7 separate regions of the Homo sapiens genome follow, and all the other regions are linked to region 5. Evidence: promoter capture Hi-C in 16 types of primary human blood cells and fetal thymus (Javierre and others, 2016). All regions are on one chromosome and are shown on one strand. The core of a region is centred on a gene start or on the middle of the fragment in contact, and the rest is flanking DNA. Distances in the headings are between cores, read along the strand shown.

Region 1 (3,926 bases), core at 1,215-3,714, 2.4 Mb before region 5:
ATGAAGGTTATATCACCCTTCTAGGTATTTGGGCAAAGGGATCTAAGCATCCATGTAGTGAACAAAGGAAGTTCTAAATTTTAACTACAGCCTCATGATCAGTTACTAAAATAAGAATCAGAGCAGCTATGACTCTGTTCTTCTTTGTATTTGTATATTTTCTGTAAATACAGCAATTAATCTTTCTGTTCCTCTATACCTCTTTTTACCTTTATGTATGAATTGTTGGTAGTGGTTAACTTTACACTTTTGCCTTTAAATTAAAAATATTCTGTTGGGAATGTGAATACTTAGAAGGGTAATTAGTATCATATAGTAATCAATACCATGATGACTGCCCAGAGATGGCCACATTAACTGGTATCATCCCTTTCTAGAGAAAGGGTGAGAGCAACTTCATTTATATTGAAGGGTACATGGCTTCATTTTGTACACCCCTGAGTTAAAAATGATTTTTATATTTTTAAAGATTGTAAATAAACAAATAACAATAAGAATATGTGATAAAGATCATAAGTGACCATGAAAGCCTAAGGTATTTATTATGGAGCCCTTTATAAAGTTTGAACTTTGATTTTATGAAGAAATTCATCTTTCAAGGAGAAACTATAAAGTTGTTGTTGTTGTCACATGAAATTCAAATGTTTGTACAAGTGTGTGGATATACTGAGTAGTCAAAGGAGTAGGTGGTAACAGATATTAAACTACTGTTTGTCAGCTCCAAATCCACCCTTCTAGACTCTACTTGGTGATGCTGGGCCTAACTGTGCAAATTATAATTTCGTTTGTCAGTGACTGGAATGACAAGCACCTCATTCCTTCCTGTGTGCCTCCTGCTCCTGTCAGTACTGTGTAAGCCTGGCCCTTTACACTGGCAGCAGCAGTTGGTTCCAGTCTGCAACTTTTACTGACACTCCCAGAACCAGCCTCATTACAACCCCTCAGAGGCACTAGTAGTGTCCCCTCATCCAAGGTCTGAGTCCCAGCTCCGTGGGGCTCTTCCTCAAGCTTCTAGGTTCTGCTAACTCCAATCTCTCTCCTGTGTTATCCCAGTCCTAGGAGAAGCAGCTAGCTATCTGCAATTACATCTATGTCCATTTATGTTTTTTTCAATTTTTCAACCTCTTAAAATACCTACTATTATTTGTTTTCCCAACTGCATCACCACTAACACAAGCAAGTTTTCAATAAATATTTGGTAAATACATAAATGCCAGGTACTGTATATGCATTGGGATATGGCAACAAGACAGACACAGATTTAACTACAATTATAATAAGTGGTACAAAGTGCTATGGTCATAGCAATAACCTTAATAAAAGGTTATCAGACCCATTATAATTAAGCTAGACTCTGGAGTCTAATTACATGGAGCTTTGAATTTCAAAAAGAATGTTAAAAGATTAAGAGCAAAGGCCAGGCACAGTGGCTCATGCCTGTAATCCCAGCACTCTGGGAGGTCGAGGCAGGTGGATCACCTGAGGTCAGGTGTTCGAGACCAGCGTGGCCAACATGGTGAAACCCGGTCTCTACTAAAAATACAAAAAATTAGCCAGGCATGGTGGCGCGCGCTTGTAGTCTCAGCTACTTGGGAGGCTGAGGCAGGAGAATTGCTTGAACCCAAGAGGCGGAGGTTGCAGTGGGCCGAGATCACGCCATTGCACTCCAGCCTGGGTGACAAAGTGAGACTATGCCTCAAAAAAAAAAAAAAAAAAAAAAAAGATTATGAGCAACAAAGATATGATAGACCTATATGTGTATTTCAGAATGATTAACTTAGCAGCGGCTTAGTACTGTCTGAAATAAGTTACTAGAGGAAATTTAAGAGAGTACTATAATAATGAAGGCTAGAAGTATAGAAACCCTGAATATGGTTATAGTAGGACTAGAATGGATAAAAAACAGATAAAATGAATACAAGAAACAGAAACAGAATCAATAGGACTTAGTAACTGACTAAATGCAGAAGACAAAGGAGAACGAACTAGTAAAAGGTATCTGAATCTAAGTCCTAATAAACTCAAAACAGTGTAGCACAAAATGAAGTAGACTATATAAGAAATGATATCCAAAAGGAAGTCTAAAATTTCTGAGAAGTGAGGTTCAATGCTAGTAGTATATCTGTGAGTTAGCCACAAAGAGGAAAGCTTATACTAACATGTAAAGTATGATTTTATATAAATCAAAATTAATTACACTATACATACCCCCTGAAGTGGTGCACCAGAAACCACGGCCACATTTGCACGTATTTCTTCTTCATTTAAACTCAGCCCCATGTATTGAGAGAGCTCTGGATACAGTCTGGGATAGAGATCTAAAAAGTAAATGAATAAATTAAAAAGCACTTACAGAATACACAAAATGAAAACTTCTCTCATTATGGGCTTCTGCGTATTAACAAAATTACACTTAAGTTATAAAATCTAGAATGAATTTAAAGTAGCAATTTGGAAAGGCATCTCCCCATCTCTGTAATAATGAGAAATGGAAAATACAGAAAATGTTTAAAATTCGTAAAATATGAAGACATCTGAACTGAAACAACCAGAGATTCCTAAACACTCAAAAGTAGAAATAACTTTTCCAAATAAACTATCTTGCCTTTCCTGTTTCTTAAAATAAACTTACTTGATTAGGAATTTAGTAAGAATGCCACTGATTCTCCAATTCAGAACAACTGACCAAAATATCTATTTGTCAAGTCAGCTACTTTATAACTCATTCTGTAAACAGGGATATGGAATGATTCTTATGAACAATTTTTTTTGGAAGCTTGTAAATTTATTTAGTGTCTTATCATTTTAATAATTTTAACCACATTCCAATGAAATCCTGGAAATGGTATTTTTAAATATTAACATTATTTCACTTATTAGTAGTTATATACTATTTCCAAAAGCTCTTTTTTACATGAGACTTAAATTATCTGTGACTTAAAATGAATTTTCTATGAGGCACAATGTTATAAACTGTTGTAAGACAAAATGACAGGCCACAAAAACTTATTTAACACTTATTTTGTATCTTAAGTCATAGTATTTAGGAGCTCTGTCCTGAATCCCTCTGAACCTTGAAGAAAAAGGGACCAAAGACAGGATACAGAGAATGAATAAAGGCCTTAAGATTTAGGAGGCTTCCCAAAGAGGAGGTGGTTGGAAATTTCAGAAGCTCCCATAGGAAAGACAGAAGACAATTCAGAAAGTTCAACAGCAGCAGCATGATAGTTCTTAAATGTGAATTCATATAGTTCTCATATGTGAATTCATATATATAATTCATTCATAAATGAATCAGCCACGTTAGGGATTTACAAGTCAGTCTAAAATTAATTTTCATTAAGCCATGAAATACATCCCCATATCCACAGTTCACTATCTTAATTAGAAAAAGGGTTATTTTTTGAAGTAAACTTTTTTTTCTTATTCATAACTATTTGAGCTTAACTACCAATTTTATGCAGCCTGTCCAAAAAAAAATCTTGGATTCCTTATATGAGCAAAAGAAGATAACAATATTTCTGTTCACAGAGAATGAACTCAAAGTATAAACCTACTTCCATCGTGAGGGATAGGAGCAGAAGCTTCTGACAAAATTGCTGGATTGGCAGGGTTTGCAGAAAAAGCAGTTTGAGCCTGAAAAAGAAAAGAAGAAAATTCTAACAATATGCTATACTTACTTTATATTCTTATATAATTTATAAGCTAAATCCAGTACTTCCAAAAAGAAACTAAAACAATGAAGATTTATGTAAGAAAGTTTAATTTCAAACACATCAGCAATACATTTTCCAAAGGAAATCTGCAAATCAAAACTATATTTGATATTCTAAATACTTTTAAGGCTATCACAAAAAAATTGTAGAAGTACCATTCTACATGTCTTATAACCAGCACTTCATAGTGCTGCCACAATAAATTAATAT
Region 2 (3,417 bases), core at 409-2,908, 2.4 Mb after region 5:
GTCTGCATATCTTTGCCTGTCCCTTTTTTAGGTGAATCATTTTGTTTTAGGTAAGTCTTTTGTATACAGTATAGATTCGGGTCTTGTTTGTGAGTTGAAACCCCTTTTTTTAATAGGTGAATTAAACCATCCACATTTATGAATATTACTAAGAAATTTGATCTCAACTGTCATACTGTGTTATGATTACTGTGTGCATTACTATTTTATTCTTCATTATGTGTTTTGTTTGCATTTTTATTAAACTTTTTTGGCATTTAGGAAGTTTTCTGTCTGTTCTGTTGGTTATCTTTGTATTTATATCCCTTTAATGCTGTTAATCCCCTGTTTTATTCATTTATAATTTCACTTGTCATTTTTAATAGTATTTTTTTATTTGCAACAGTCAATGAACTTATTCTACTTTTCCTCTCTTCTCATTTTTTAGTGGCTATTTTTTACTTTGTCAGAACATATAACATTTATATATTATTATTCTACACTTGTTCCCACCTTTGTTTTGTTATATTAAATTTTCACCACTGGTTCTTTTGCCAAAGTTTTCCCAGGGATCTCTTAATTAGATGAAGCTTATCTGCTAGTAGGTTCCTCAGGAATGTCTTATGTGTACAGTAGTCTCTAAATTTTTGCATTAAAATTTTTTCCTGTAATCTTCATACTTGAAGAGCAGCTTGGCTGATAGAGGATCTCTGATTCACAGTTCTTTGACTTTTGAGTCTGTTCTCTGTTGAACACCTTATAATTTAGTTTTACTTTTTGAGACCATTTTGCTCTTTTCTTTCATTTCTTTCTTGAACTCAATCAGCTATTTTTAAATTTTCCTTTATTAGGGGCAGATTTCTCAGTTTTGGTTTTGAATTTCTGATTCAAGGTGGTATTTTATTTTTCCAGATGTTTGAGGATATTTAATTCAGTTTGCATTGTTACGTTACAGTTTTGTTTTGCAGTTGTTTTCTTGGGAGAGGAATTTCATCACCTGAGATATTTTGATTTGCATCTTTTGGTTTCTTTTTATGGTAGTTTTGTATCTGTGTGGGGTTCTTTCATCTATTCATATCATGGATTTGGGTGGTTTATAATACTCCTCACTCAAGAGTACCATTTTTTTTTCTTCTTTTTTTCTTTGATGCATGGTCTCACTTTGTTGCCTCGGCTAGAGTTCAGTGGTACGATCTCAGCTCATTGCAACCTCCACCTCCCAAGTTCAAGTGATTCTCATGCCTCAGCCTCCAGAGTAGTAGTAGCTGGTATTACAGGCGTGTGCCGCCGTGCCCAGCTAATTTTCGTATTTTTAGTAGAGATGGGATTTCGCCATGTTGCCCAGGCTGGTCTCGAAATACTGGCCTCAAGAAATCTGCCTGCCTTGGCTCCCAGAATTCTGAGATTCAGGTGTGAGCCATCGCACCTGGACTCTCTCTCTCTCTTTTTTTTTTTTTTTTGAGATGGAGTCTTGCTCCATTGGCCAGGCTGGAGTGTAGTGGCATGATCTCTGCCCACTGCAACCTCCACCTCCCGGGTTCAAATGAGTCTCCTGCCTCAGCCTCCTGAGTAGCTGGGACTACAGGCATGCACCACCATACCCAGCTAATTTTGTTGTATTTTTAGTAGAGATGGAGTTTTACCATGTTGGTCAGGGTGGTCTCAAACTCATGACCTCAAATGATCCACCTGCCTCGGCCTCCCAAAGTGCTGGAATTACAGGCGTGAGCTACTGCACCTGGCCTCTCTCTCTTTTTTTTTTTTCTGGTGAGATGCAGTTTGTTTGTTTTATTCTCTTTCTCTCCTGTTCCTTCCTTTCTTTTCTTTTTTCTTTTTCTTTTTTTTTTTTTTGAGACAGAGTTTTGCTCTTGTCATCCAGGCTGGAGTGCAGTGGCACAGTCTTGGCTCACTGCAACCTCTGCCTCCTGGGCTCAAGCAATCCTCCTGCCTCAGCCTCCTGAGTAGTGGGATTACAAGCGTGTGCTACCACGCCTGGCTAATTTTTGTTTTTTTAGTAGAGACAGGGTTTCATCACATTGGCCAAGCTGGTCTAGAACTCCTGACCTCAGGTGATCTGCCAGCCTTGGCCTCCCAAAGTTGTGGGATTACAGGTGTGAGCCACTGCACCTGGCCTCTTTTGTTTTCTTTTCTTTTTTTTTTTTTTTTGAGATAAAATCTCACTCTGTCACCTAGGCTGGAATGCAATGGCGCCATTATAGCTCACTGTAACCTCAAACTCTTGGGTTCAAACGATCCTCGCACCTCAGCATCTTGAGTAGCTGGAACTACAGGCGCTTACCACCACATCTTGCTAATTAAAAAAATTTTTTAATTGTAGAGATTAGGGTCTCATTATATGCCAAGGCTGGCAGTTTCTTTAATAGATGACTTTCTTTTGGTGGGGGGCAGATTGTATGCCCTTGGATTTTTTTTTTTGGTCTCATTTTGTCTTGCAGAACCCTAAAGTTTCCTCTTTTGTTCCTTTTTCTTTTTGCCACCCAATCTCCTAAAGATGCTTCTTCTTCTTCTTCTTCTTTTTTTTTAAACCTTATTATCTCTCAAAAATGATGCCTTTCCAAGACTGCTCCCTGCTCCCTGTAGCTCGTGCTCTGGTCTACCAGTACTCTTTTTCAGTTTCTTCATAGTTAGAGTTTATTTTATTTTATGGTGGCGATTGTAGATCCACCTTAGAACTTCTTCCTTCCTGTGCCCATATCCTTCCTTCTACACACATTTTTCAGATGCACTTTATCATCCACAAAAGCTTGTGATGGAGTATGAGAGATAGCTTTTGTTGGGATTTGGTGTTTCTTTTATTATGGTTAATTACAAATGTGTATTCTCTGTCTTGTTATCCTGAGGGCATGGGTTTTGTGTAGTTTTTAGTTGATCTTTTTGTCGACCTTTATTTATGAAGGATCAGTGGAGAGATTCAGATTTAGGTAGCTGGTATTATTCTCATCCACCAGTTCAATGTATGTATGTATGTATGTGTGTGTGTGTGTATATATATACACACACACACATATACTTTGTATACAAAGCATATATATATACTATGTATATACAAATGTGTGTATATATACACACACTATATACTATATATATACAAAGTATATGTATATACGTATATACATATATACATTTGTATATACATATGTATATATGTATATACGTATATACATATATACATTTGTATATACATATGTATATATGTATATACAATGTGTGTATGTGTGTGTATTTTATATATATATATATATATATATATATATATATATATATGCTTTTTTTTTTTTTTGAGATAGATTCTTGCTCTCTCACTGAGGCTGGAGTGCAGTGGCACAATCTCAGCTCACTATAACCTCCACCCACCAGGTTCAAGCGATTCTCCTGCCTCAGCTTCCGAAGTAGCTGAGACTACAGGCACATGCCGCC
Region 3 (3,697 bases), core at 227-2,726, 2.2 Mb after region 5:
CTCTACTGGCCTCAAGTGATCTGCCTCTCTTGGCCTCCCAAAGTGCTGGGATTACAGCTGTGAGCCACCATGCCCAGTGAAACAGAGTTTTTCAAGCATTCTCTCTCTCTATCTCTAGTTTTGGTTGAAAGCTGTCATTCTCTGGTGTGAACCTGGGAGGTGGAGCTTGCAGTGAGCCGAGATTGCACCATTGCCCTCCAGCCTGGGTGACAGAGCAAGACTCCGTCTCAAAAAAGAAAGCTGTCATTCTCTGGTCCCATCCCTTCATCCCTCTCCTTATACCAAGATCATTGCTTTTCATTTATTGTACTGAGCTATAATGGGTATTTTCTCTATTAAAAATATTGCTTAATATTTAAAATGAGAATCAAAGATAAAATGTTTAGTTCAAAAAAAAGGCATACTTGTCACTTTACTAAATTGTAAAATTTTTAACTTCTTTTTAATCTGTATGCAGGCAATTTTTTTTCCATCACATAAAGGTCACTGAGATACTGTGTCATTTATTTAGACCCCAAATTTTGTTTTTACAGCATGATAGTAGTATTGTTACTTTGAAAGGATTGTTCTTGATTTCTTTTTGGGGTGTTTGTGCGTATTTCAGTACTTCCAGCGGCAATGTAAGCAACAGAAAGGATGAGACAAATGCTCGAGATACTTATGTTTCATCCTTTCCTCGGGCACCAAGCACTTCTGATTCTGTGCGGTTGAAGTGTAGGGAGATGCTTGCTGCAGCTCTTCGAACAGGGGGTAAGTCCAGTGCATGTTATTTCTCAGTCCTTTGGTCACCACCCACAACCACTGCCATCTCCAACTCCATATTGCTGTTTGATGAGTGTTACCCTGTGGATAGCCCACCCACTGCTGCTTAGCTTGGGGAGAAGTTGTTGCTGATACGGGTCTGTTAAGGGGGAGAGGAGGAGGAATACTGGGGCATTTGCTTATTACTATGTAATTGTAAGAAATAGATTCCCTCTAATACATGGATGTTTTCCCTGATTTCATAGTAATGTACACTTTTTTCTCACAAATCTTTTGTTTCCCCACAATTTAATCTGCAAACTACATACCCTGATCTTATATTGAGAGTTAACAATACTGAATTGTTGAATAGTATGACATATAGTATGAATGTTTTCCATTTTCTAGTTAGAAAAAGGGAGGGTGAGTCTTGATTTATATATGGGAGCTTAATTTAATTTGAAAGTATCCAGTCTTAACATGTAACATTTGGATTTAAAGTTTTATATACAGGAATATTTGTTATTTTATACGAATTCATCCTTTTTCTTTTCTCTCATTCTGCACCATGGCTAGTTTGACCTGATTTTCTCCTTACTCTGCCCTTTCTACTTTGATTTCCTGACTGTCTCTTTTATTTTTTCTGCCTAGTTTATTTCCTTCTATCCTCTTGCATATTTGTATAGCAGTCTTCTGAGTGTGTCTGTATATGTGATTGGCAGATTAACTAAATGATTTCTTTGCATTGAAGCCTGAGTCACAGGAGACTAGACAGTTCTTTCTGTAACTTTCTCTACTCTGCTGGAGCAGCCAGAATTTATGGAGTTACGAAAAATGAATTGCCTGCTAGATCAGTTACTTCCTGTGCCTGAGGGATCAGGAATCATCAGTGCAGGAGCACTGTGGGTATCAGGTGAAGCCCAGAAAAGAAGTCTAGCGGGCAGTGAAGTGATCAGATTCTAACGAACTAAACTGAACGGTTTCTTTATGTCAGGCAAATGGGGTTTAAGAAATAGGAATGCAGTTTAATTACCTGGTATTAGAATTTTCTTTTAATCTGTTACAATAATTTGACAATTCTTTATGCCTATTTTTAGATGACTACATTGCAATTGGAGCTGATGAGGAAGAATTAGGATCTCAAATTGAAGAAGATATCCTTTGTGTGTATATTCATAATTGTTTTTTTTAATAAGTAATATTTATTGAACATATGCAAATGCCAGGCACGGTTTTACATGCAGTAGTCCTTCCAATGAATTAGGTGCTCTCATCCCATTTTACAGAGAGAAAACAGAAGCAGAAGAGGATTGGTCATTGTTCTAGATCACACAGCCTGACACTGACAGGGCTGGGATTCCATTGTAGGGAATTTGGCTCCAAGCCCATGACCTTGACCACCACGCTAGACTTTTTCCTTCATGTTGAAGCTGAATGAACTAGAAACAGCGAAGTTTAAAAGGACCTGGCTCTTTGGAAACTGAAACATATAAATCCCTAGTAAAATTGCTTCAGATAGCAGGAGAGTGAAAATATGATTGAGAACAAGAAAGGCAAACCGATAACATAATTAGAAGAGATTACAAAATACATGAGAACATTGGGTGTATCTCGTTGGCAATTTGAAAACCTAAAGAATTTCGCTTTCCTAGCAAAACATGAGTGTCCAAGATTGACTTTATGTACTTGGCAGGACAGGCTGTGTTATATTATGGTGACAACCTTGAAATTTCAGTGGCTTAACACCACAGAGGTTTCTTTCACAGATTAAACTGGACAAACAGGAATGTATTTGTCCTATATGTTCATCACAGGCTAGCTGAGGACTCTGGGCTTTGGGTCATTGTCCTCTAGGACCAGGCAGGTGGATTGGCCATTGTGAGTGGTGATGTGGCAGAAGGTAAAATGGATAAATTGCATACTGGCTTTCAAAACTACTGCTGAGGAGTGACATCTATTACTTCTGCTACCAGCCAGAAAGGTCTCTTGGTGTCACACAACTTCAAGTGGTCATAATTGTTTTAAGTAATCTGCTAGCTTAATTTTTCCTGTTGGTATAGAATTCAAAGTCTTATTCTTCACTTTTTATCTTGATTGTATTGTTTTCTTGGAAAGGAGAGGGACATCTATGTCATTTTATTTGTCTTGTTTTTCCTGTTATTGAAAAGGAAAGTACAGTATTGATGGCATTTATGACATTTAAATTTTTCTGCCTTGTAGATTGAGACTGTAGTGTCTGAATTTAAGTTGTGCAAAAGGGCATGGAAAGCACACACATATAAATGTGAAGACTTCTCAGTTAGGGGGACCTCAGAGCACACACAGTCACCTGAGCTCATTATCCCAGAGGAAGCGTGTTCTTGCTAAGCACCGGGAAAGGGCTCCAGGAGAGGGGTACTGTGTGTGAGTAGGGGCAGGGAGCATCTAGGTGGCTGTGTAACATGAGATTGTCCTGGTTGAGGAAATGGCCTTATTAGGAAGGGAGCTGTTCCAGGGTTCAGCTTTGGCAGTGGCCTCTTCTGCAGAGAAGAAGAGCCTGCTGAGGTAGCTCCTGCTGAGCTGGGGGAGGAGAGGAACCCTCACGGCCATGCTGAATGGTCTCTTCTCAGAGACCCTGTGGGAACTGTGTGACCAGAGAGACTTTAGGATCCTTAGTAGAATTCGGATTTGGGCAAGTAAAGCTTGAATAAGTTCAAGCTCCTTTTCAAACATGTGCTTTCTCATGTTGAGTACTTGAGTTACTTTTTGAAACCCTGTTGACTTGCATACTGCTGGCACTAAACATTTAGGAAATAAAACATGACTAGGCCGGGCGCGGTGGCTCACGCCTATAATCCCAGCACTTTGAGAGGCCGAGACGGGTGGATCACCTGAGGTCAGGAGTTTGAGACCAGCCTGGCCAACATGGTGAAACCCCGTCTCTACTAAAAATACAAAAATTAGCCGGGCATGGTGG
Region 4 (3,493 bases), core at 190-2,689, 2.5 Mb before region 5:
ACTAGGTAGCAGGTATCTAGAGGTTCCCTTGATTGTCTCTCTTAGTTCACATGACTTCCCCAAATCCAAGACTGATGAGGGAAATGAAACGTTCTGTTGCCCAGGCTGGAGTGCAGTGACACGATTTTGGCTTACTGCAACCTCTGCCTCCCAGGTTAAAGCAATTCTCCTGCCTCAACCTCCCAAGAAGCTGGGATTACGGGCACACACCAACACACCCAGCACATTTTTGTATTCTTAGTGGAGACAGGGTTTCATCATGTTGGCCAGGCTGGTTTCGAACTCTTGACCTAGTGATCTGACCCCCTCGGCCTCCCAAAGTGGTATGAATACAGGCATAAGCCACCGCGCCCAGCCCTACTGTTGGTTTTTAACTGATTAAACATAAAACTGGGACAGACACTGTGGCTCACGCCTGTAATCTCAGCACTTTGACAGGCCAAGGCAGGAGGATCACTTGAGCCCAGGAATCCAAGAGACCAGCCTGGGCAATGTAGAAAGACTCTGTCTGTACAAGTTTTTTTTGTTTTTTTTTTTTTTTTAGCTGGGTGTGGTGGTGCTTACCTGTACTCCCAGCTACCCAGAAGGCTGAGGTCAAAGAATTGCTTCAGCCCGGGAGGCAGAGGTTGCAATGAGTTGAGATCATGCCACTGCACTCTAGCCTGGGCAACAGAGAGAGACCTTGTGTCAAAAAACAAAAACAAAACAAAAACAAATTTTGTTGAATCCTGTGATATATTTAAATTGCCTTCCAGAAGAGCCAGTTCACCTGTATACATCTCTTCCCAGCTCTGCATTCAGTGATTTCACGTTGGTAACATGAAATTGGCCATAGTGGGGGTATTTTACACGACAGAAATTGGCAAACACTCCAAATCAGCCTGTTTTCTTCCAACTTGCTGGTTACTAAACATTTACCAGTTTACACTAGAGAAATTTACCAATTTTACTTCCATCAATAGTGTTTAAGCACTTCAGCACTGGACACGACCATTGACAGTACTGATATTTGTCACATCGATATCTGAAAATAGTATCTCATTTTGTTGTAATTTTCACTTACTTTTTATGAAGTTGACATTTCTGTATTTTAGGGCATACAATGTATGTATATCTTAAAATTATGGTTTTATTTATAATTTCCTGTTTATCTTCTAACCTAATCTATACTAATCTCCGATTAGCAACATGCAGAGTAAAAACATTGCTGGATTTATAAAGTACAAGGGAGAAGATCTTAAATGAGGGATGACTTCAGCAATTACCCTAATCTTTACCCAAGCAAGGAAGATAAACTGTGCAGGTGACAGATAACAGATGCCCTCTGGAAGCTGTATAGAACCCATGGAGGAAAAATTGATGCCAATATGGGCATATACAGCTCCTATTTAATTTTTTCCCACTGGACATAAAAAACAGAACCTCAGAAACAGTATTAACTGCATGGGAAAAATCATCTAAAAAAATCCTCTTAAAAAAATGTGAGGTCTTATTCCTCCATTAATTTCAACACTAACTCACATGCCCAGATAACTATGAAAGGGAGAAGAGGAGGCTTGCACCGGCATTGCCAAAATGAGAAAACATAAGTGATTACACGCAATGTCTGCTGTGACTTAAATGTCTCAAATCTCATTACTGCCCCAGGACCTGCTCCTACTCACACACGCATTTTCATTTGTCTTTCCACCCCTTTCTTACTTAACTCATGTACTTTGGGGAATGCTAACTTCTACCTCCAATTCTAGAGATGGCCCAGAGTCTCAGAGAATGTTTCATTTCCCTCATCAGTCTTGGATTTGGGGAAGTCATGTGAACTAATAGGGACAATCAAGGGAGTCTCTAGATACTTGCTAGCCAGCCTGGGCTGGATGAGGTCTCTCACCCTGAGGGAGAAAGTAGGCAGCTGGCCAAATACCAGAAGCTACCTATTACCAGCCATAGGGGAAGGGAACCAGACTTAGAAGGCAGCTAACTATGCGGAAGGCCTAACAGAAAGATGATGAAAAACTGTGTCTCTGATGAACTTATTGAGCCACTGGATTAACGAACATTGATGTATACGATACTTCGGATTTCCAGGTACCTGAGCTACAAATTCCTGTGATGGCTAATTTTGTGTGTCAACTTGACTGGTCCATGGGGTCAGATGTTTGGTTAAACATTATTGTGGGTATGTCTGTGGGGGAGGTTCCTTTTGAGTTGGTGGACTGAGTAAGGCATACAGCCCTCCCAATGTAGAGAGGCCTCAAACAATCTATTGGAGGCCTGAATAGGACACAAAAGTGGAGTAAGAGAGAATAATCTCTCTTTGCCTGACTGTCTTTGAGCTGGGGCATTGTTCTTCTGCCTCTGGGCTTGGGATGAGACTGGAGATTATACAACGGGCTCTCCTGGTTTTCAGGTTCTTGGGCTCAGACTTGGATATATACATTCCAGACTCCTATATATAAACTCCTATTAGTTCTGTTTCTCTGGAGAACCCAGACTCATACAATTCCCTTTGTTATTTAAGCAAAATGTGCAAGAGGAAAGAGCTGATCACAGTTCTATCTAAATTTTCCTGCTGTCCATGTAAGTTTTGAGCTTCTTTCAGGCTTGTAACGCAGTGGTCAAACTTTAAAATGTAAAACATATCATGTCATTTTCCTGCTCTTACCCCTCCAGTGGCCTGTGTCACACATTAATAAAAATAATAAGAAAAAATCCAGTGCTCACCTTTGTCCTGTGGTCTGGGCCCTGCTGCCTCTATCTCTCACCGTTAGTGTGCTCTAGACACTAAAGTGCTGGCTCAGGCTGTTGACCTTGCTATTCCTTCTACCTGGAATGCCTTTTCTCAGGATCTGCACATTCAAGTTTCTTAATTCATTTAGTTGTCAGCTGAAATATCAGTGATCAGAGGAGACTTCTCTGACCCCCTATCTAAAGAAGTTCTCACCCTCTTCATGCTCTATTCCTTACTGTGGTTCAGTTTTTCTTGTGATACTTATCCTTACCTAAATTTACATTATTCACTTTTTAAATAGTCACTCTTACCAGAAGGTAAGTTCCAAAAGGGCAAGGACTTCATATCATTTATGGCTGAGTCTCTAGTACCTAGAACATTTCCTGGCATACAATAAATAGTCAATACCTTTTAATGAAGACGATGTAAAGAAAAAAATAATAGTCTCAGGTGTCATCTTCCTTAAGAATAAGTATCAATATGTATTCCTGGCTAGTTTTCATTTTAGTAATGGGGTACACGTTGCAGATTGACTGACCCGGGAGCCATTCCCAACCTGCTTCTGCCTGGCGGCTTGGCAATATTGAGGCTGTAAGAGTGAAGCACTTGTTTGCCCAGTCTCCACTGCTGCTATGCAAGAATTCTGGCCTGGAAGATTGGTGTGCATTTCTGGGAGTGCTTTTGGTTTACTAATAAGAGAAACACACAAGGCTGGCCCTGCCCTTCCTCCTTATTTCTCCTCAGAAGCTAAGTACAATCATGGTGATG
Region 5 (3,896 bases), core at 115-2,614:
ACTACTTGCAGAGCATAACCAGAAAGAAAAACCAAGCAAAGATATGAAGGAGGGGCCACAAAACCATAGCACATTCAGGGGATAACTCTAAAATCCACTCCAAAGGGCAAACTGCTTAATAAAGCAGTTCCTGATTTCCCATCCAGTGGTTCACGTCCCCCCTCTCTAAGTAGCTTTGAAAGGGCAGGGGGAAGGAAACGTTTCTGAACACGTTCATGCCCACACGCCCCGTGGTCGGAGCCCAGGCAGGGTCCGCGGCTCTGCTAAACCCGGAAGCTGCACACGCCGTGCCGTTAACCCACTGCCAGGTGCAAAGTGGAAGGGGGCAAGAAGTCAAGGGTGGCCTGCCGGAGGTGGGCGCGCAGGGCAAGGAGAAACGAAGGGCGAACCCGAGGCCTCGCCGCCTTCCGCGGTGTAGCCCGTCAGCATCTGATCCTGGACGGCGCGCACAGGTGAACACACCTTGCTGTGCCGAGACCATGCCGAGAGAGACAAGGGGCGAGGAAAACGCAGGGAACTGGGGGTGGGGCCGGTAACTGCGCTTCAGAGGCTACACAGGAGAGTGGAAGAAGAGCTGGGGTTGCCCGGACTAGGCAGAGGTCATCTTCCTCGCCCCCGGAGCGAACAGACCCGTGTGGCGGGAGGAAGAGCAACGGGAAGAGGTCCGCGCTGCGGCGAAGCCTGGCGGGAGCGCCTCCGCGCCGCAGAAGTGCATTCGGGCCCCGCTACGGCCCAAGGGCACCCCTCTCTCCCCGCTTTTCTGCGGCCGCTTCGGAGGTAGGGCGGGGGAACCACTCACCTCCGGCCTCCGCTTCGCCAGCACCCAGGCCGTCTCCAGCTCCAAACACGTCAATGGCTCACGCAGCAGGACCTTAAGTAGCGCGCATCCCAACTTGCTGCCCCCGCTCCCCGGCGGCAGCCCGCCCAATCGGCGCGCGCCGCCGCCAGACTGACAGCCGCGCGGGGCCCTGGGCCGCAGGGGCGGTCGGGCCTCGCCCCGCCCCCGCCTGGCGAAAGGAGGGCCGAGGCGGGAGGAGTGGGCGGGGCGGTGAGCGCGACCCCGCCCCCTCTTCCCCCGCCCCACCGCGCCCCCCAGCCGCGGCCCGTCTCTTAACACTTCGGCTTGACGGGCGGCGTCGCGGCCCAATGGGCGGGCCAACTCCCGCCAGCGGCGGCTCCGAGTGGCCAGCTCTCGGGCGGAGCGCGCGCGGGGGGCGGGCGCAGCGGCGGGCGGGGTTTGGGGGCGGGCCGACGGGAGGCGGGGGCGGTGGCCGAACAGGCAGGGGGAGGCAGCGGTGGGCGCGACGTCGGCGGCGGCGGCGGCGGCGGCGGCGGCAGCTGCAAGTTGGGCTGCAGGGGCAGCGCATACACTACAATGGCTGCTGGAAAGAGGCGTAAGGAAACAATTTCCAGGCCCGCCGCGTCCAGCCCGAAATATGAGAAAAAAATTATTAGAAATTCCGCGGGCGGTGTAGAGGCGGCGGACGGGCCGGAGGGAGGATGTTAAAGCCCCGCGGTGAGTTCTCCGGGGGTCCGGGGCGGCGGCGAGGCGTTTAGCGGGAGAAATATCAGGGTTATTTAAATTATGGGACTAGCCGAGGGGGCAGAGGAGCAGCGGCGGCGGCAGGAGGAGGAAAAGTTTGTGCTACTCTCAGCCCCTGCTCAGGACCCCAGAGAGAAAAATAATAATAAAAAATAAAATAAAATAATTACGCGGGGCTGCGAGGACTCCCGAAGTCGCTTCTGACAGGGCAGGGGGCGATGCGGCTGGGGACCCGAAGGTGAGGTCGGTGGGAAAAAAAAAAAAACCTTTATTCAGGGTCTGGAAAGTTTGAAAAGTTTTCCTCCTCCTCCTCCTCCTCCTCCTCTCTGGTGCTGTGAATATTGTGACAGCGGCAGCGGCAGCAGCGAGAGCGGAAGACATTAGAGACCCGAAAAATAAGGGAAAAATTAATATAAATTCAGTTTTGAGAGTAAACTCTCCGCATTTTCCACCAAAACATCCCGGGGGAAGGTCGCTTCCCAAAGGGCCTGGCGGAAACCCGCAGTCGGCAATATTTGGGGGGCACTTTGAGTGACTTGGGGTAACTTTGCCCCTTTTTCAAAAGAGGTTTTTCTTTTCTGGAGAAATGAATTTGTTTTTGCCCTTTCCTCAGGTGGGCAAGCCGGGGTCGGGGTGCGGGGTCTGCAGGGAGGTGTGAGCCCGGGGTGTGTGGCTGCGAGGGGGGGTAGGGGGAGGGGGTGCTAAATGAAAGCAGGAGATCGGCACAGAGCAGGGACAGCTTGTTGTCAGTATCATAAACAACCAAAATGGAGGGAGAACTCAGGCATATAACCAAATAAAAATTTTTAAAAAATCGCAAAAAATCCCTAAAAATCCGGGATGCTCCCCCTTTTCTCGCTAAAGGTAAAAGTATGTACCGCCTTTCCCCTGAAGTCCATTTTGACTTTGCAGGGACCAAGGAGTTAATATTTATTTATTTTTTAAAACTTTCGAAGGGCAAAAGCCTTTTATAACTCAACCGACAATGAGAAAACGTGAAAATCCGATGCAAGAGAAGCAGGGGGAGCGAGGGGGGAGGTGGTAGTGCAGAAACTGCTAAACTTATTGGTAATGTGGACTGATCTCAGATAAGATAAACACTATATTTGCTATTTTATAACTCTCTTTTAATGATCTTTGCGGGGTTTTTTTGGGTGGAAAAAAAAGTGATGCCATTTTCTTAATAGAGTTAATATGTGTGATTGGAAGAATGAACCTTTCCGGCTTTAGATTGCATTTTCGTCGCATTTATGCTTCAGGTTTTGTTAGTGGCTCCCTCCTTTCTTTAAACTGGGCTCTGCAGAGGAGGGATAGAGAGGTGATGGTGCTCAGAGAGGCTGGAGTGCAAGGCTGGAGTACCTTTTGGGGAGGGATGTGGAGTTGCTTGGTTTCCCCCTTCCTGACATGTTTGCTTCACCTGTTCATCCTTCCTAAAGAATGTTAAGCTGAGGTTTTCTGGTTTTATGTGTATAAAAGGATGATGTCTCTTGCATCACATTGATGTTAATGGGAAAGTGCTGCTGATGTTGGTTCCACGTGGGATATGGGACAGAGCAGGGCATTTTAAAGGGACAGCTTCTCTTTTCTTATGGTTTTCATCACCTACACAGAATCACTGTCTGAGGACCAAAAGCAGAGGTGCTGGGAGGGTGTGGTGATGGAAGAGCCTTCCCTTTCTGTTACTCCAGTGCACCCACCCATAGGAGTGATGGAGGGACAGGAGGGATAAACAGCCTCAACCGAAGATGGATATGTGTATAGTTTGTATCCAAACTGTTCCTTTGTGTAACAAGCCCTCCCAGGAACTTTTCATGTTACATTGCTTTGCTTTGGAAGCTGATTTTGGAAGGAATTGTGGAAAAATGGAAATAGTTTAAGGTGTGTGGTGTAATGGTATAGCATTATTGAACAGTTATGAATTCTGTGCAGTGAGATCAAAGAGCTGTGTATGCCCATAATGTGATTTTACAGCCATTTTGTAAAAACTGTAAAATACCTTAATATTCAATTTGGCTTAAGGTACATTGAGGACTTCTGGTTGAAAATTACAGAGTGGTGAAGATTCTTTAAAATTGTAAGCAGTAGGCATTTCTTTAGGGGGAAGGAAAGCACACACACCAACACCATGGAAAAGTTTACACATCCATTTTTAAAGTCCATCCTATGCATGGGTTGTAACTTTGCGCCTTTGAAATGAAAAGATTTTTAAAATCCTGAGCCCTGTGAGTTTTCATTTTCTAAGTTGAATTTATTTGTGTTATTTAACAGAAAGTGTTTACTGACCATAAACTACTATCGGCTCTTATGTTTTAGATTTCCACGATATTTTCAAAATTTAAAATGTGTAAATTGT
Region 6 (3,629 bases), core at 71-2,570, 2.3 Mb before region 5:
CACTGGCATTTGAGCTGCCCGGGGATCCATCATTTATTGGCTGATCTCTCTCAACCAGACAGGAGTGTACTCTTTCAGTGTGTTAAAACTTGTTTTTGCTTTTAACTATGGAATTCAATTTGGGATTCTTCCCTAAGTTGTGAATACACACACCCTTAAAAAGAATGCCATATCCTCGGTTCCAAGTTACACATCCAGAAGTGTTCCAGATGTTCAGAGTCAACTATAGCAGTTGTATTTGTGCGGCCAGGGTAATGCATAATTTCTCAACTATATTTATATGGAAAATTACTATTGCTTCTTTCATTCATTTAGTTTCTTGTATGTGGATAATTAGGAATTAAATTTATTTGACTTTTGGATATCAGCCTTATCCTTCAGCTATTAATATAGTTCGTAACTGTATAATTTTACATGGAATCAGAAGTGATCTTTTTTTCACTTTTCTTCCCTGTGGTTTCTTTGGTATCAATCATTCTTTCCTCTGACCAGAACTTCTTGAGGGCTGGGGCTATACTTTAAATGGTCTTTGATGCCTGGCACAGTGCCTGAGGAACTGAAAAGGGTTGCTTCTAGAATTACCGTATTTTCTTGTTTCTAAGAGCAACATTTTTAAAAACCATTTTAACAATTCAGAACTTAAGATGTCTGAAATTATCAATGTCAAAAGAATATTCCCACTGTCGGGCCGAAAAGCAAGTTGAGACTGTTTCCTTCACCCACCCACATGCGACCTTCAGCCAGACTCCAAAGGTATCCCTTCAGCAGATTGTCACCTCAGTTCCATTGTTTGCATTTATAGTGCTCAACAGTGAAATTTCTAACATAAACGAGGGATTCCTAATTTTTGCTGAAATTCATGCCTTCAAAAAGATTACACAATGAAGTAACTCAAAACCATGAGGTAAGAGGCAGCTTTCAATTAAAGGCAATAAAACGAGGCCAGAAACGGATGGGATTTCCCTATCTCATCCTGCACATATTTTAGTTCTAGTTTCCTCTCTGAGGATTAACCCCATCAATGATTGCCCCTATGAAGTCCCAACCTTGACAAGAGAAGCCTGCTCACCAATAAACCTAACATCTGCATACAAGGTGTATCAAATGAGCAGGAGAATTTTTCAGGATCAAGATCTAAGTTGGGCATAAGGAATTAGGAGAAATAAGTGTTTTGTCATTGTGTAAAACCAAAGGTTTGCATAGAGGACACACAACTTGAGAAGAGCCACATGCACAATCAAAATCATAGCGCTCTTACTGTGTTTTGCACCTGTGAGGGAGGTGCAGCAATAAGGCTTCCTGACCATGCTTTGGGGAGATAGAACAACCCCCTGGAGTGAGGCCACTGGCACAAAAGCAGGATGGTGTTCCATGTGTTTACTGCAAGTAAATCTATTAAAACTACCGGGTTTTTACTGGGACTTTTGTTATTATTATTATTACTATTTTGAGACTGAGTCTTGCTCCATCCCCCAGGCTGGAGTGCAGTGATGCAATCTTGGCTCACTGCAACCTCCACCTCCCAGGTTCAAGCAATTCTCGTACCTCAGCCTCCTGAGTAGATGGAATTACAGGTGCCGAATACCACGCCCAGCTAATTTTTGTATTTTTAGTAGATACGGGGTTTCACCACGTTGGCTAGGCTGATCTTGAATTCCCAAACTCAGGTGATCCACCCGCCTCGGCCGCCCAAAGTGTTGGGATTACCGGCGTGAGCCACCGTGCCTGGCCAGGACTTTTGAAAAGTAACAGGATGACATCCATTTTTGCTTAAACCCAAAGAGCCAACCTAGGACACATGATCCATTCTACCTAGTGGGAAATAAAAGTACCATCAGCTCTCCATATTTTCACAGCTAATTCTTCTTGGCATTCCCAATATATCTGTGAAAAACACCTTTAGACATTACTTTTTAAATATCAGATAGTCCCTCAGTTCTAGTCGCCCCCAGAAGCTCCCTTTCCAGAGCCCAGTCTGAGCAGTTTGTGCTTCAGTTGTCCACACAGCTATTTTCCTGGGACTTAGTTCACCATCATCTTGGTCTTTATTCCACGCTCTCCTATGCTGAGTCCCTGATTCCTGCGGTCCCTTGTTCACTGCCTCATTTTGGATGAGCATGTCCTCTAGTGACTTTCTGAGAAAGGAAGCATGAAAGGTAAAATGCTTAAGGCATTGCATTTTTCAAGATTTGATTCTAGTTGTTAAATAAAATTATGGATGGAAGCAGGTTAAAAAGCCAACCCTGACTGAAGAATTGATGTTAAGATGTGAAAAAAGAGTATCAGTTATAGTTTGCTCTGAAGCCAGTCTTCTTGCTTTCTTACATACAGCCATGTCTTTGTAAAACCACATGTGCATTCACACCCAGCTTTGCATTCTACAAAAGCATACACTGGAAATAACTGGGCATATGGCACAAATAGGGCTATGGACAGACCATACCACCCAATTTTATAACAAGAACACCAACAAAAACAATAAGCCTCTATTTATAAAATACTGGCTCAGTCAATCTCCACTAGCAGCCTACCCTGAGTAGCTTTTAAACTCAGGGGCTTGCTCTTTTGAGATGTAGGGGTATTTACTTTCAAAATGCCAGTTTTATCAGTGTTAAAAATTTGCTTCAGGGGCCTTCCTAATGTTTTCAAACAAACATCTTTTTTTCTTTTTGCAGCTTCTTTATCTGTCTTCACACTTCACCAGATAGCTTAATATCATGAAATACATAGCAGTTCCTGAAACCACTAACCCAGCCTTTGTTTCAATAAAGAAAGGTGCCACTGTAGAAGTTTTTTCCTTAAGGTGTTTGCATATTGCTAAGGCTTGCTTTTTAATTGTTTAGAAAGTTTCCCCCCTGATTTCTTGGAAATCACATACTGGGATACATGCATATCAACCAAAACAATTTCAACATTATTAGATAAATATCACTCTCCCATTTACCAGTTTTGTATGAGCTAATTCACATTACCAAAACATATGTGGTAGCAGAACAAACTGGATGTTTTGTTCTTTGAAATACTTTAGGGAATACACCACCCCTAGATTTTGGATTGCATTTTTTTTAATGTTTCCTGATTCCTCTGCTTCCACTCTCCATGATTCCTTTTTTTATTTTTCTCTATGCTCAAGGGAAACGTTGTTTGATTTAATTAGGATGATGTTCAGGTGTACACAGAAACCTAAAATAAAGTCACTTAAACAAGATAGACATTAATTGCTCTCACATAAAGGAAATCTAGACATAAAATCATCTTGCGATGTAAAAATTCCTGTTTTGCTCCAACCGTCACATCTATGTTCCAGACAGCAGAAAGGAGGAAGAGCAGATGGGCCACAGGCCACAGGCTTTCTCCTTTTATGAAGGCTTCCCAGAAGCTTCAGAACACATATATCTCACTGGCCATATATAGCTGCAAAAGGGGCTAAGAAATATCATCTTTTATCCAAGCACATTTTTTTAGGGTTCTGTTACTAAACAAAAAGAAAGAATGAATATTATGAGCCAATCAGCATTCTCTGCCCCAAAGTATTGTTTCAAACTATTTAATATGTATGAGCATTTATAATATGCCAGAAACTGTGTTAAGTGATGAGAAATTCAAAGATGTGTAAAACTTGGCTCCTG
Region 7 (3,428 bases), core at 260-2,759, 2.4 Mb before region 5:
AAAATTAATAATTTTTCTTAATGACTTCTCTTGTTTTTAAAAGTTTAAATGACTTTCAACTTTAAAAAGAACTATATTTCAATCCCATTCAGTTTGGTTTACTCATTTTACTTATTAAACACCCATTGTGTAGACAGCATGGGCTGGTTATCACAAGGGAATATCTAAAGATCTGTTGGCTGGGCCGGTGGCTCATGCTTGTAATCCCAGCACTTTGGGAGGCCGAGGTGGGTGGATTACGTGAGGTTGGGAGTTCGAGACCAGCCTTACCAACATGGAGAAACCCTGTCTCTACTAAAAATACAAAATTAGCCAGGCATGGTGGTGCATGCCTGTAATCCCAGCTACTTGGGAGGCTGAGGCAGGAGAATTACTTGAACCCGGGAGGTGGAGGTTACTTGAGCTGAGACTGCGCCATTTTACTCCAGGCTGGGCAACAAGAGTGAAACTCCGTCCCAAAAAAAAAAAAAAAGATCTGTCCCTAGAGGCATGTGTTCTTGTGGGAGTAACTCAGATAACCATGAGGCAGATGTTGGGGGCAGGGAGGTATGACAGGGAAGAGGTGGGGAAGCCTAGCATTGTTCAGTCAGGGGAAACAAATGCTCAAAATTCCCTAAGTAGGAAAGCGCTGAGCTTTGTTCAGATAAGGATAAGTTTAACTTCACAAAATTCAGGGTTTCTGTAAAAGAGTAGTACATCCACCTGGTGAGTGATTTTATTTTTGACATAGTAGTTATTTGGACACAAGGCAAGCCCAGCTATGTACTTCCCGCCACTGGGTAGAGAGGACTGCCTGGCATGATATACATGCTTCATAAATGTTTGTTAAATTCAAGAATGGAAAAGCTTTTTGGGATCAGACGTTTTAAATATATTGCCTTCTTATACTTACTAAAAAATAAACTGAAAGTTGTTTTTTCGCCCCAAATCCAGATTTTCCTTGCTGCTGCTTAACTTGGAGGAGTACTACTTTGAACAGCATAGAGCCAATCACATTTTGCACAAGGGCAGTCACCATGAAAGGTAAGGAAGCTTCGGTATCTCCTTGGACAAACAAACCTTTCTGATATCTGAACTTTTAAAGTTAAATGTGTGATCATATAGGTGTTAACTAAAGAAAAAATTAGGCTTTAAAAAAAATTAAAGTAAATTTTATTTAGACTTTTATTGAGGATTATAACCTAGGAGAGTCTTTTGGAGAGTTTTTGCTATGTTTATTATTTTATCTCCCATGAAGTTTTTTTCATCTTTTCTCTTATTAGGGAAGTAATGAGAAGAGTGTATTTAAAAGTTATAATTGTAACTTGAAACCTTTTTCAAAGCTAAAAAGCATTTGTTCCAATTCTGGGGTTGTAGATATCTTAAGCTTGATAGGACTCCAGTCCATCCCATCATTTTTTTGTTGCATCCCTCTTGTAGTTATGCAGTATCCTCTGCTCTCAATTATTCGGGTGACAATGTTATAAAGTAATGATTATAAACCACAAGAGTGGTATAAAATCAGTACTTTCAAAATGAGTCATGCGATTTGAACTAGAAGCAAGATCTGATTTCTCAGTATCTTAATAACTATTACTCACTACTATAAAAACAGATTGTTTCTTTGACTTTACCTTTTGAAAGCTATGTACAGAAGCATGTAATGAAGCTTTTTGTTTGCTTAAAATGGCAACTTAGAATTAACTAAGATGAAAATTGTTCCACCAAAAAGGTATCTGCTAATGATTTCCTTTTGGGAGGTTACTTAACAACTGTAAGCCATAACTTAGGAAATTCTTTGACAGTAGATAAATCCACTTATTTTTATTATTCTTCAGGTTTATCCTTAACGGATCAAAAACATGTGGTATTTGTTTAAATACAAGCTAAAGTAAAACTCACTTGGTTTTTTTGTTTAGTAGCTTATGACATATCTATTTTCTTGGCATTCAATCAAATTAGACAATTATTCATCCCTGAACACAGCACCTTGCTTTCTTATCTCTGGAATTTTGCTCATATTCTTTTCCCTAATTCCATATCTTTTTTCCTTCCAACATTCTTCTATCGTATATCATCATAGTGCCTTGCTTAAAATTAAATGTACTTGTTTATTATTAAAATACAACTACAGGTAGCAAACTGAAACCTGTTTTTATAATTTTAAAGTAACTATTAGGGCAAAATGGTACAGCCCCATGTAGGTGTATTTGGTAATATCTGGTAAGATGACATGTGCATTAACCTATTGATCTAGCAATGCTACTTCTAGGATACCATTTCAAAGAGAACTGGCAGTTATATAAATGGACATATGCACAAGGTTATTATAGCACTACTTGTACTAGTAAAAGACTAGGAACAATCCTACAGGAGACTGACTGAACTGACTGATAAGAAATGGCCACATGATGGAGTACTATGCAGGTTCAACAAGGAATGAAGTTCTTTGTAATGCTATGAAGTGATCTCTACATGTATTAAGTGTAAAAAGCAAGGGACAGGATACTGTGTGTCATAAGCTACTTTTGTCAGAAGGGGGCAGATTTATCACTATGTTTTTAAAAATCGGAGGCATAAACTAAAAGCTAGTGGAGACAGTTATCTACACAGAAGAGGGGAAGGATCAGAAGAACAATATAGAGATGGAATGAGGACTTCTCCAAATGTACCTTATTTTGTAACTTTCGTTTTGGAACCATATAAACATTTTATAGATTTTTACTACACTTTATCTTAGCTAAGAGGCTGAGAGGGCATCTTTTGTAGATTTTTAATATAGAATTAAATTTAAAAAGAAACAGTAAGGCCAGGTGTGGTGGCTCATGCCTGTAATCCCAGTACTTTGGGAGGCCGAGGCTGGTGGATCACTTGAGGCTAGGAGTTTGAGACCAGCCTGGCCAACACGGTGAAACCTCGTCTCTGCTAAAATACAAAAATTAGCCAGGCGTGGTGGTGCACCCTTGTAATCCCAGCTACTTGGGAGACTGAGGCAGGAGAATTGCTTGAACTTGGGAGGCGGAGGTTGCAGTGAGCCAGGATCATGCCACTGCACTCCAGCCTGGGTGACAAAGCAAGACTCTGTCTCAAAAATAAATCAATCAATAAATAAAAATAAAAAAGAAACAGTAAACCCTAAAAATCAAAGAGAAAATGAAACAGTTCAGGTGTGGTGGTTCACACTCGTAATCCCAGCACTTTAGTAAGCCAAGGCAGTACAGTACGATCTCTTGTGGCCAGGAGTTTGAGACCAGCCTGATCAACATAGCGAAACTCTGTTTCTATTTATTACAATTATATATTAAAAAAAGAAAAGACAAGAAACAAATGAATTTAATTATAAAGTTGGAGTTAGCCACAGAAAATTATTTTAATCAACTTTACAATATAATAATTTGACTGTGTATCTCTGGTAAGATGAAAAAGTATTGCAAAGAAGTTGAAAAAGA

What was found. The method cuts DNA at HindIII sites, captures the fragments that hold promoters and counts their contacts. A CHiCAGO score of 5 or more calls a contact.
Region 1: a contact is called between a fragment that was not itself captured here and the fragment with the promoter of PLAG1 in region 5, in 1 of 17 cell types (naive CD8 T cells). The highest score is 7.8, in naive CD8 T cells.
Region 2: a fragment that was not itself captured here is called in contact with the fragment with the promoter of PLAG1 in region 5 in 1 of 17 cell types (total CD4 T cells); the score reaches 6.7 in total CD4 T cells.
Region 3: a fragment that was not itself captured here is called in contact with the fragment with the promoter of PLAG1 in region 5 in 3 of 17 cell types (activated CD4 T cells, naive CD8 T cells and naive CD4 T cells); the score reaches 7.3 in activated CD4 T cells.
Region 4: a fragment that was not itself captured here is called in contact with the fragment with the promoter of PLAG1 in region 5 in 1 of 17 cell types (activated CD4 T cells); the score reaches 5.9 in activated CD4 T cells.
Region 6: a contact is called between a fragment that was not itself captured here and the fragment with the promoter of PLAG1 in region 5, in 2 of 17 cell types (neutrophils and naive CD8 T cells). The highest score is 9.0, in neutrophils.
Region 7: a contact is called between a fragment that was not itself captured here and the fragment with the promoter of PLAG1 in region 5, in 2 of 17 cell types (activated CD4 T cells and non-activated CD4 T cells). The highest score is 5.7, in activated CD4 T cells.

What each region holds. Positions count from the first base shown.
Region 1 is chr8:58,570,597-58,574,522 of GRCh38, reverse strand. It overlaps SDCBP (syndecan binding protein), which reads right to left. Exons shown (of 9, transcript NM_005625.4): 3 at 3,558-3,636; 4 at 2,209-2,318. Among named protein-coding and RNA genes, the nearest start is that of SDCBP, 19 kb to the right of the region's middle. The HindIII fragment of the contact is 628 bases long and covers 2,151-2,778 here.
Region 2 is chr8:53,819,395-53,822,811 of GRCh38, reverse strand. All of the region lies in intron 4 of ATP6V1H (ATPase H+ transporting V1 subunit H), which reads left to right. Among named protein-coding and RNA genes, the nearest start is that of ATP6V1H, 22 kb to the left of the region's middle. The HindIII fragment of the contact is 2,174 bases long and covers 572-2,745 here.
Region 3 is chr8:53,985,167-53,988,863 of GRCh38, reverse strand. LYPLA1-TCEA1 (LYPLA1-TCEA1 readthrough) reads left to right here. Exons shown (of 21, transcript NM_001425842.1): 16 at 605-750; 17 at 1,839-1,895. It overlaps TCEA1 (transcription elongation factor A1), which reads left to right. Exons shown (of 10, transcript NM_006756.4): 5 at 605-750; 6 at 1,839-1,895. Among named protein-coding and RNA genes, the nearest start is that of TCEA1, 35 kb to the left of the region's middle. The HindIII fragment of the contact is 3,896 bases long and covers 1-3,424 here.
Region 4 is chr8:58,666,410-58,669,902 of GRCh38, reverse strand. No RefSeq gene overlaps it. Among named protein-coding and RNA genes, the nearest start is that of NSMAF, 8.3 kb to the right of the region's middle. RefSeq lists an enhancer at 1-645. The HindIII fragment of the contact is 5,273 bases long and covers 1-3,493 here.
Region 5 is chr8:56,208,741-56,212,636 of GRCh38, reverse strand. PLAG1 (PLAG1 zinc finger) reads left to right here and starts at 1,364. Exons shown (of 5, transcript NM_002655.3): 1 at 1,364-1,516. It overlaps CHCHD7 (coiled-coil-helix-coiled-coil-helix domain containing 7), which reads right to left and starts at 848. Exons shown (of 4, transcript NM_001011671.3): 1 at 800-848. RefSeq lists an enhancer at 670-739 and silencers at 752-977, 820-1,379. The HindIII fragment of the contact is 9,849 bases long and covers 1-3,896 here.
Region 6 is chr8:58,540,440-58,544,068 of GRCh38, reverse strand. No RefSeq gene overlaps it. Among named protein-coding and RNA genes, the nearest start is that of SDCBP, 11 kb to the left of the region's middle. The HindIII fragment of the contact is 4,122 bases long and covers 1-3,381 here.
Region 7 is chr8:58,640,579-58,644,006 of GRCh38, reverse strand. NSMAF (neutral sphingomyelinase activation associated factor) reads left to right here. Exons shown (of 31, transcript NM_003580.4): 2 at 934-1,023. Among named protein-coding and RNA genes, the nearest start is that of NSMAF, 18 kb to the left of the region's middle. The HindIII fragment of the contact is 282 bases long and covers 1,369-1,650 here.